Linked DNA regions of Homo sapiens: region 1 is linked to region 2. The links are contacts of gene promoters, found by promoter capture Hi-C in blood cells and fetal thymus (Javierre and others, 2016). All regions are on one chromosome and are shown on one strand. The core of a region is centred on a gene start or on the middle of the fragment in contact, and the rest is flanking DNA. Distances in the headings are between cores, read along the strand shown. Region 1 overlaps LINC00620 (long intergenic non-protein coding RNA 620). Region 2 holds the start of WNT7A (Wnt family member 7A).

What was found. Contacts are between HindIII fragments. The CHiCAGO score rates a contact against its expected background, and 5 or more counts as called.
Region 1: a fragment that was not itself captured here is called in contact with the fragment with the promoter of WNT7A in region 2 in 2 of 17 cell types (megakaryocytes and endothelial precursors); the score reaches 5.8 in megakaryocytes.

Annotation. Positions count from the first base shown.
Region 1 is chr3:13,679,145-13,682,342 of GRCh38, forward strand. The region is part of intron 1 of LINC00620 (long intergenic non-protein coding RNA 620); the gene reads left to right. Among named protein-coding and RNA genes, the nearest start is that of LINC00620, 30 kb to the left of the region's middle. RefSeq lists an enhancer at 2,428-2,973. The HindIII fragment of the contact is 630 bases long and covers 1,462-2,091 here.
Region 2 is chr3:13,878,607-13,881,553 of GRCh38, forward strand. WNT7A (Wnt family member 7A) reads right to left here and starts at 1,465. Exons shown (of 4, transcript NM_004625.4): 1 at 1,140-1,465. The coding sequence starts at 1,210. RefSeq lists enhancers at 1-439, 942-1,443. The HindIII fragment of the contact is 8,507 bases long and covers 1-2,947 here.

The DNA of each region.
Region 1 (3,198 bases), core at 527-3,026, 200 kb before region 2:
TACTTTGGAATAACCATACAGCTATTAAAATGAATGAACTTGAGCTACCAAGGTCAGCATAGATAAATCTCAAAAAATACAACACTGAGCCTGACTAAGCAAGGTGCAATTGATACCTCTGTATAAAATGCAAAATCAGTCAAAATAATACTGTGTATAATTCACAGATATATGTCTACAGAGAGCAAAGGGACAGAAAAGTGAGGGGCTCAATCATCACTGAATCTGGCATTATGTTTACAAAAAAGGGACCAGTCTGAAGCGCTCTCTGGGGAGCTGGCAGGGACATGTGGCCTTCCTCCAGCCTTCCTCAGTCTTCTAAAGCCTGTGGGTGGCTCTCTCAAGACCTAGAGTCCTGGGCTGGACATCTGGCCAGCTCAGCCCATATCCATGCCTGCATGGAGCTGCCATAGGGCAGAAAGCAGGGAGCTGGAGCCTTGGACTTCCATGGTGGGAGGGGAGTACCTCTTTCTGCCAAGAGGACCCCTAGAATGGCAAAGGGGAGATTCTGAGAGACATCTGGGGGCTTGAAGAGAGAGATTGGATGCTGCCAGCTAAAAATCACAGCCTTTCCCTTACCTAGATCAAATCCCCCTTTACTCTTCATATGCTCCTCCCTCAGGGCAACTCGGGGGGTCTCCTCCTCTCTGAAGCCCTCTGGGATTTGCATTCTGATTCAGTACCTCCCTCTCTGGGGCTTTTCCAGAGCTTCTTTCCTTCGATTCCTCTCTTAGGGTTTCAAGAAACTTTAGCTGTGCAGCACACATGAAGTCTATTGTAAACAGAGTGTGGAAGAATGTAAGGGCTGAAAGACGATCTGGAGAGAAAGGACAGGTGGATGGAAGGAAGGATAGAAGCAGGCGGGCACCTCCATGAGGCTGAAGAGGCTGTGGCTTCACCCACCTGTATGCGCCCCCCACAGCTGCAGCACCCAGCAGGCCCTCAGTGAATTTTTTTGACTGGCTGGCTATGGAATTCCTTAGGGAAGATGGTGATAACGACAGTTCCCTGGTTTTCCTCCACGTTGACAATGACTGTCAATCAACTTTGTGTCTTTGGACACTTTCCCTGGAGATTGCAGGTCTTGGCTGCAAGGGGCCCCCTCTCCCCAGCAGCTTCCTTCTCTACACACTGCATCTGTCTCCCTCCTCTCACTTTCAGGTGTACTCAGGTCTTCGCTCTGTCCACCCAGTCTTCCCGCTGCCACCCTCGCTGCTCAGGTTGCTTCCCTAGGAGCAGAGCCTGAGACAGGGGTTGGGTGCCTGTGGTTACTGATGGAGAGAAGCAGGTGAGGCGGAGGATGACACCAAGCAAGCATGAGGGTGCAGGAGAAGTCTAGACTCAGCCTGACCTCACGAGGGGTGCTGGGGGGTAAATGGCACCGCGGAGCTGAAGTCCAGTCCTACAGGATATTGTAACAGCTGCAGGCAGCCCTGGGGGTGCGAGTGGGATGATACATAAAGCTTCGTGGTATTTCCAGTGCTTTTGGTGCTTCTCCAGTTAAGCGTGGCTGTGAGTCAATGGTGGAGACCTTGGCAATGGCTGAGGGATGGGTGTACCTCCTGACAAGGGGGATCTGGGCTTGGCACCAACACCACCTGCTGCCTTCACCAGCCCGGCCACTCCCATACTCCTTGGGGACCTGGGCTAGACTTCTGTCCTAGTGCTGTGCATAGCTGGGCCACTAAGTTTCGTGGAGACCCCAATTTGTTTTCAATAGAAAGAGAGCCTTAGATGAGGGGAGAAGCCATTGATGTGAGTCCATTGTGCACCTGGGGCCCACAACCCTGCAGGTCCATGGTCAACGGCTCTTGGCAGTGGAGTCCCTGCTTCCAGAACACGGGCTCTCCAGCTCCCCATGACCCACACTAGCCCATTCCCTTCATTTATGGCAACTGTTGGGCCCCTGTGGACCTCTGAGTTTTCAGCTTCCTCTGGGAGTCTTTGATCTCTAAAGACCCTTGGGCTCAGACATTGTGTTTCTGTGCTTCAAGTGACGATCTCTTTACTGAGCACCTACTGTGCGTGGCACTGCAGCCTGCTGCTTTATGTCCAAAGGTGGCAAGTGACTCTCTGCCTTTGCCTGCACAAAGCTTCCACTTGCTGGGAGCAGGTGGCAGTAACAGAGGTACACAGATTTGGGAAGTTACGTCAAGGAACTATTTATAGAATCTTCCACACCCTGGAGACCCTTGGAGCACAGACCTCTGTCCTGAACCCCAGGCTTCTGTATCCAGTGGCTTCCTTGCATCTTCTTTGGGATGTGCCATGAACACCCCAGACCCAGCACACCCAGGCTGAGCTCAGGAGGGAGGCTGGGGGAACTTGGCTGCGTGGGGTCCACTCCTGCCACAGTGGGCTGTGTGTTTCTGGGCTGCTGGCTCCTCCCCTGACCCCAGGCCTTGTGGAGACTGTGGCCAGATAGTACCCCCAACTCCTGGCCTGTGGTGGCTTAGTGGGGATATGGAAACTGACCCAGGCGAGGCCAGAGAGGAGCCCTCCTAGGAAGGGGAGTGTGTGAGTGACTCGCAGAAGGCCTGGGAGCGGGTGCAGGACCACAGTGGGAAACAGAGGCCCACTTGAACTGGAAGGGCATGGGCTGGGGTGGGGAGGGGAGATATTCAATCAGGGGACTATTTCCAGAGAAAAGGGCACAGTGTCTAGAGCCCATTGTGCAGGACGTCAGGACTCAGGGCTGGTGGCCACAAGGGTACTCCTCCTGGGCCTGAGGAGCCAGGAGAGAGGAAGACAGGAACAGAGAAGAGGGCTGCGAGACGGATGCTCTAGCCAGGGGTTCTCTTCCTCTTCCAGGGACTCTACGCGGAAAATATCTTTCCCTGCTCTGAGCTTTGTGGCATTTCTTAATTCCTCTTTCAGGCCCGTGTCTGTGTGTGTATGTGCATGTATGTGTGTGTGCATGCGCACGTGTGTGCACGCATGTGTGTGTGAGTGTGCATGTGTGTGCATGCATGTGTATGTGCGTGTGCGTGTGCGTGTGTGTGTGCACGCGCCTGGGTGTGCACATGTACACATCGGTGGACTGCCACATGCACGTGTCTACAGGAATGTGTCATGGAGCCGCTGTGTGGTCCGGGCAGGAGGTGGTGGTGGCTTGGCCCGATGGTTGCGGTGGAGACCAAAAGCTGGGGATGGGTCCCTGAGAGATGGAGAAGAACCTAGGGATTTGGCGGTGGGTTG
Region 2 (2,947 bases), core at 215-2,714:
GACGTGGACTGGGGAAGTGACGGGGTAGGGGGGTAGTAGTGACAAAACACAAAGGGTCTGCCACGCACATCCCCTCGCCGCAGCCCCTGCGGTCCACCCCTCCTCAAAAGGGATGGTAATGGGTTCACTGCTGGGGGCTGGAGGGGCAGGGTGTGTGAGACCTACCAAGCGGGCCCTTCAGCGCCAGAACCTCTATCCATGCCCAGATCCCCCCGCCCCCACACCGCTCCGAGCCTCACACGCGTTGTCTTAAGTACAAAGGGTGACCGGCTTTGCACAAGCAGCTCCAGGACGCGTCCCGAGCTGCCCCCTCCCACCTTCCAGCCAGAGCGCCCCCGAGCCCCACCTCCACAGAAACGCTAGGTGAAGCCGGAGGGCTGCTCGCGCGCCCGGCCGCCTCTGCTGCCCAGTTCCAGGGGGCGGGGTGTCCCGCCTCTCTCTAGCGCTTGTCTCCCTCTGTGTCTCAGACCGCCTCTCGTCCCACCTTTGTGTGTGTTTGTTGGGGGTGGGACGTGCTGTCCCCTTGGCCCGGGAAGGGGCTCTGGGAGTCTAAGGGCCCCTGGAAATTGGGTGGTGCCAAGGCTCCGAGCGGCGGTTTATGTTTTTGCCAGCGAATGTCCTTCCTCCTGGGTACCTGTTCCCTGTTTGCACGGACCGGCCCCGCCAGCCACCTGGGGACTGCCCAGTCTCTAGGAACGGCTGTGCCGCGCCTCCTGAGAGAGTTCGTCTCGGGCTCCGGGGACTGAGCTCCCCGAGATTGGCTGTGGTCCTGGCTTGATGTTCCTGCTAGACCTGCTGTCCCTATGCCCGGGTCCGAAGGGTCCCCGGGATGGGCTGAACCTTTGCAGCAGCTAGCCCTCCCCCAGAGTCCCTCAGGCTGGAGCGTCCCTACCGGCTGTCTCTGGTCCTGGGGGATTCCAGACTCAGACGTCCTCAGGATGGCCAGTCCCCCTGCCTATATCTCCTGGGGTGTCCTGCGGGGGGCCTTTGTGCGTCCACCGCTCCCACACCGCACCCACCCGGCCTCTCAGAGAAGCTGTGGAAGTTGGCCGGCAGAGGCTCGCAGGCGGCACACCTCCCTCCCCGGGCCGTGCCAACTTTGTCGAAACACGCGCGGAAAGGGCGCAGGCAGCCCTTACCCGATCCGGAGGTAGACCATGCCCAGGCTGAGAAAGAGGTGGCCCAGGCAGCGCCGCGCTTTCCGGTTCATAGTCCCGATTGGCCGCCGGGGCCGCGGGCCGGGCTGTGCTGATCCCGCGGGCCGGCCCCGGCGGGGCAATCAACATAGCCCGCCCGGGAGGCGCGAGCCGAGGCGTCCCCGGGGCCGTCTGTCGGTGCGCCCGTCCGCGCGCTCCGCGCCTGAGCCTCGCCAGGAGCACGGGAGCCACGGAGCGGGAGGAGGGAGGGAGGAGCGAGCGCGGCGTGGGGCGACGCCGGGCTGCGCGCGAGCGACCGGTGCAAGTGTGCGAGACGCGGGGAGTGCGGGGGCGCTGCTGCCTCCAGCCCCCGCCCCTCCCTCCTTTCCCCCGTCCCTCCCCCGCCCCCTCCCCCGCCCGCCTCCCCGGAGCGCCCGCCCAGCGCCCCTGCGCCCGCGGGACAGGGCCGCCTGCACAAGGCGCGCGCTCGCGCCTTTCCATGCGCGCTCCCGGGGGCCCCCTCCCTGCTCCGGGGTGCAGGTGGCAGGCTGGGGAGCACAGCCCGGTTGGAGGCGGTAGGAGCCCGCTCGCCCCCCACCCGTCACTAACTTGCAGATTGCAGGGCGAGTGGGCGTCCAGAGGCTGCCCTCGGGTGGAGTGGACCAGACTCGGCCGAGAGGCCTAGTGCCTTGGTCTGCTGCCCTGCTCCCTCCAGCCCGGAACAGGGAGCTGGGGCTGACAGGGCACACCCCAGTTCCCCAACCCCAGCTTCAGGGGAGGGCGCCCCCTTTCGCGGAGCGACGGGCTGACTGGCTCAGTGTATTTCTTCCCTACTCCCACCTATTCGAGAGTGGCGGCAGGGGGTGCCCAGGTTGGGCAGCCTCCTCTGGGATCCTGCTGTTAGCCGACAGACTGAGTCGGGCTGAGGCCCAGTTGCCCCGCGCGGAACAGCAGTGGGGCGCCTGAGCCGCGGGAGCGTGAGGGGCGCAGCTGGCCGCTCAGAGCGCGCTCGCGGCGTCACCAGGCGGACGCGGCGGGTGGTGCACCTCGGCCTCGCTCCCGGGAACAGAATGCTTTGAGTGCCCTGGCCGACCCGAGGGGGCTAACACCCTTCTTTGGTGTACACCTCATCCAGTGAGCTAGGGGGAGTCTAACCGTCCCTGGAAATTGGGTGGTGCCAAGACTCCGAGCGGCAGTTTATGTTTTTGCCAGCGAATGTCCATCCTCCGGGTACCTGTTCCCTGTTTGCACGGACCGGTCCCGCCTGCCACCTGGGGGTTGCCCAGTCTCTAGGAGCGGCTGCGCCTGCGCCTCCGGAGAGTGTTCCTCTCGGGCTCCAGGGACTGAGCTCCCTGGGAGTGGCTGTGGTCCTGGCTTGGTGTTCCTGCTGGACCTGCTGTCCCTATGCCCAGGTCTGGCAAATCTGAACTCAGGTTTCAGCTGAAGACACTGAGGCTCAAGGAGGTGAAGGTGTTTGCCCAGAGTCACCAGCTAGCGAGTGGCACAACCATATGGGAAACAAAGTATGCCCAACTGTAGTAACCTCCTGCACCCAGTCCTGACTATCCTTCAAGATTGCCTTTCTAAATTACACACACACACACACACACACACACCCGAAAGCCACCATTCAGGTATTCATTCATATTCCATATTCTGTGCCAACCACGATAGTGGGCACCGTGGACACAAGGAAGAAGAAAGGCAACAGTCTTTCTTCTTGGGGCCAGGAAGGAGACAGATGATAAGTGAACAAGAACAGAGTTGCAGATAGTAGACCATTAAGCAGGGTGATGGGAGAGGGAATACTG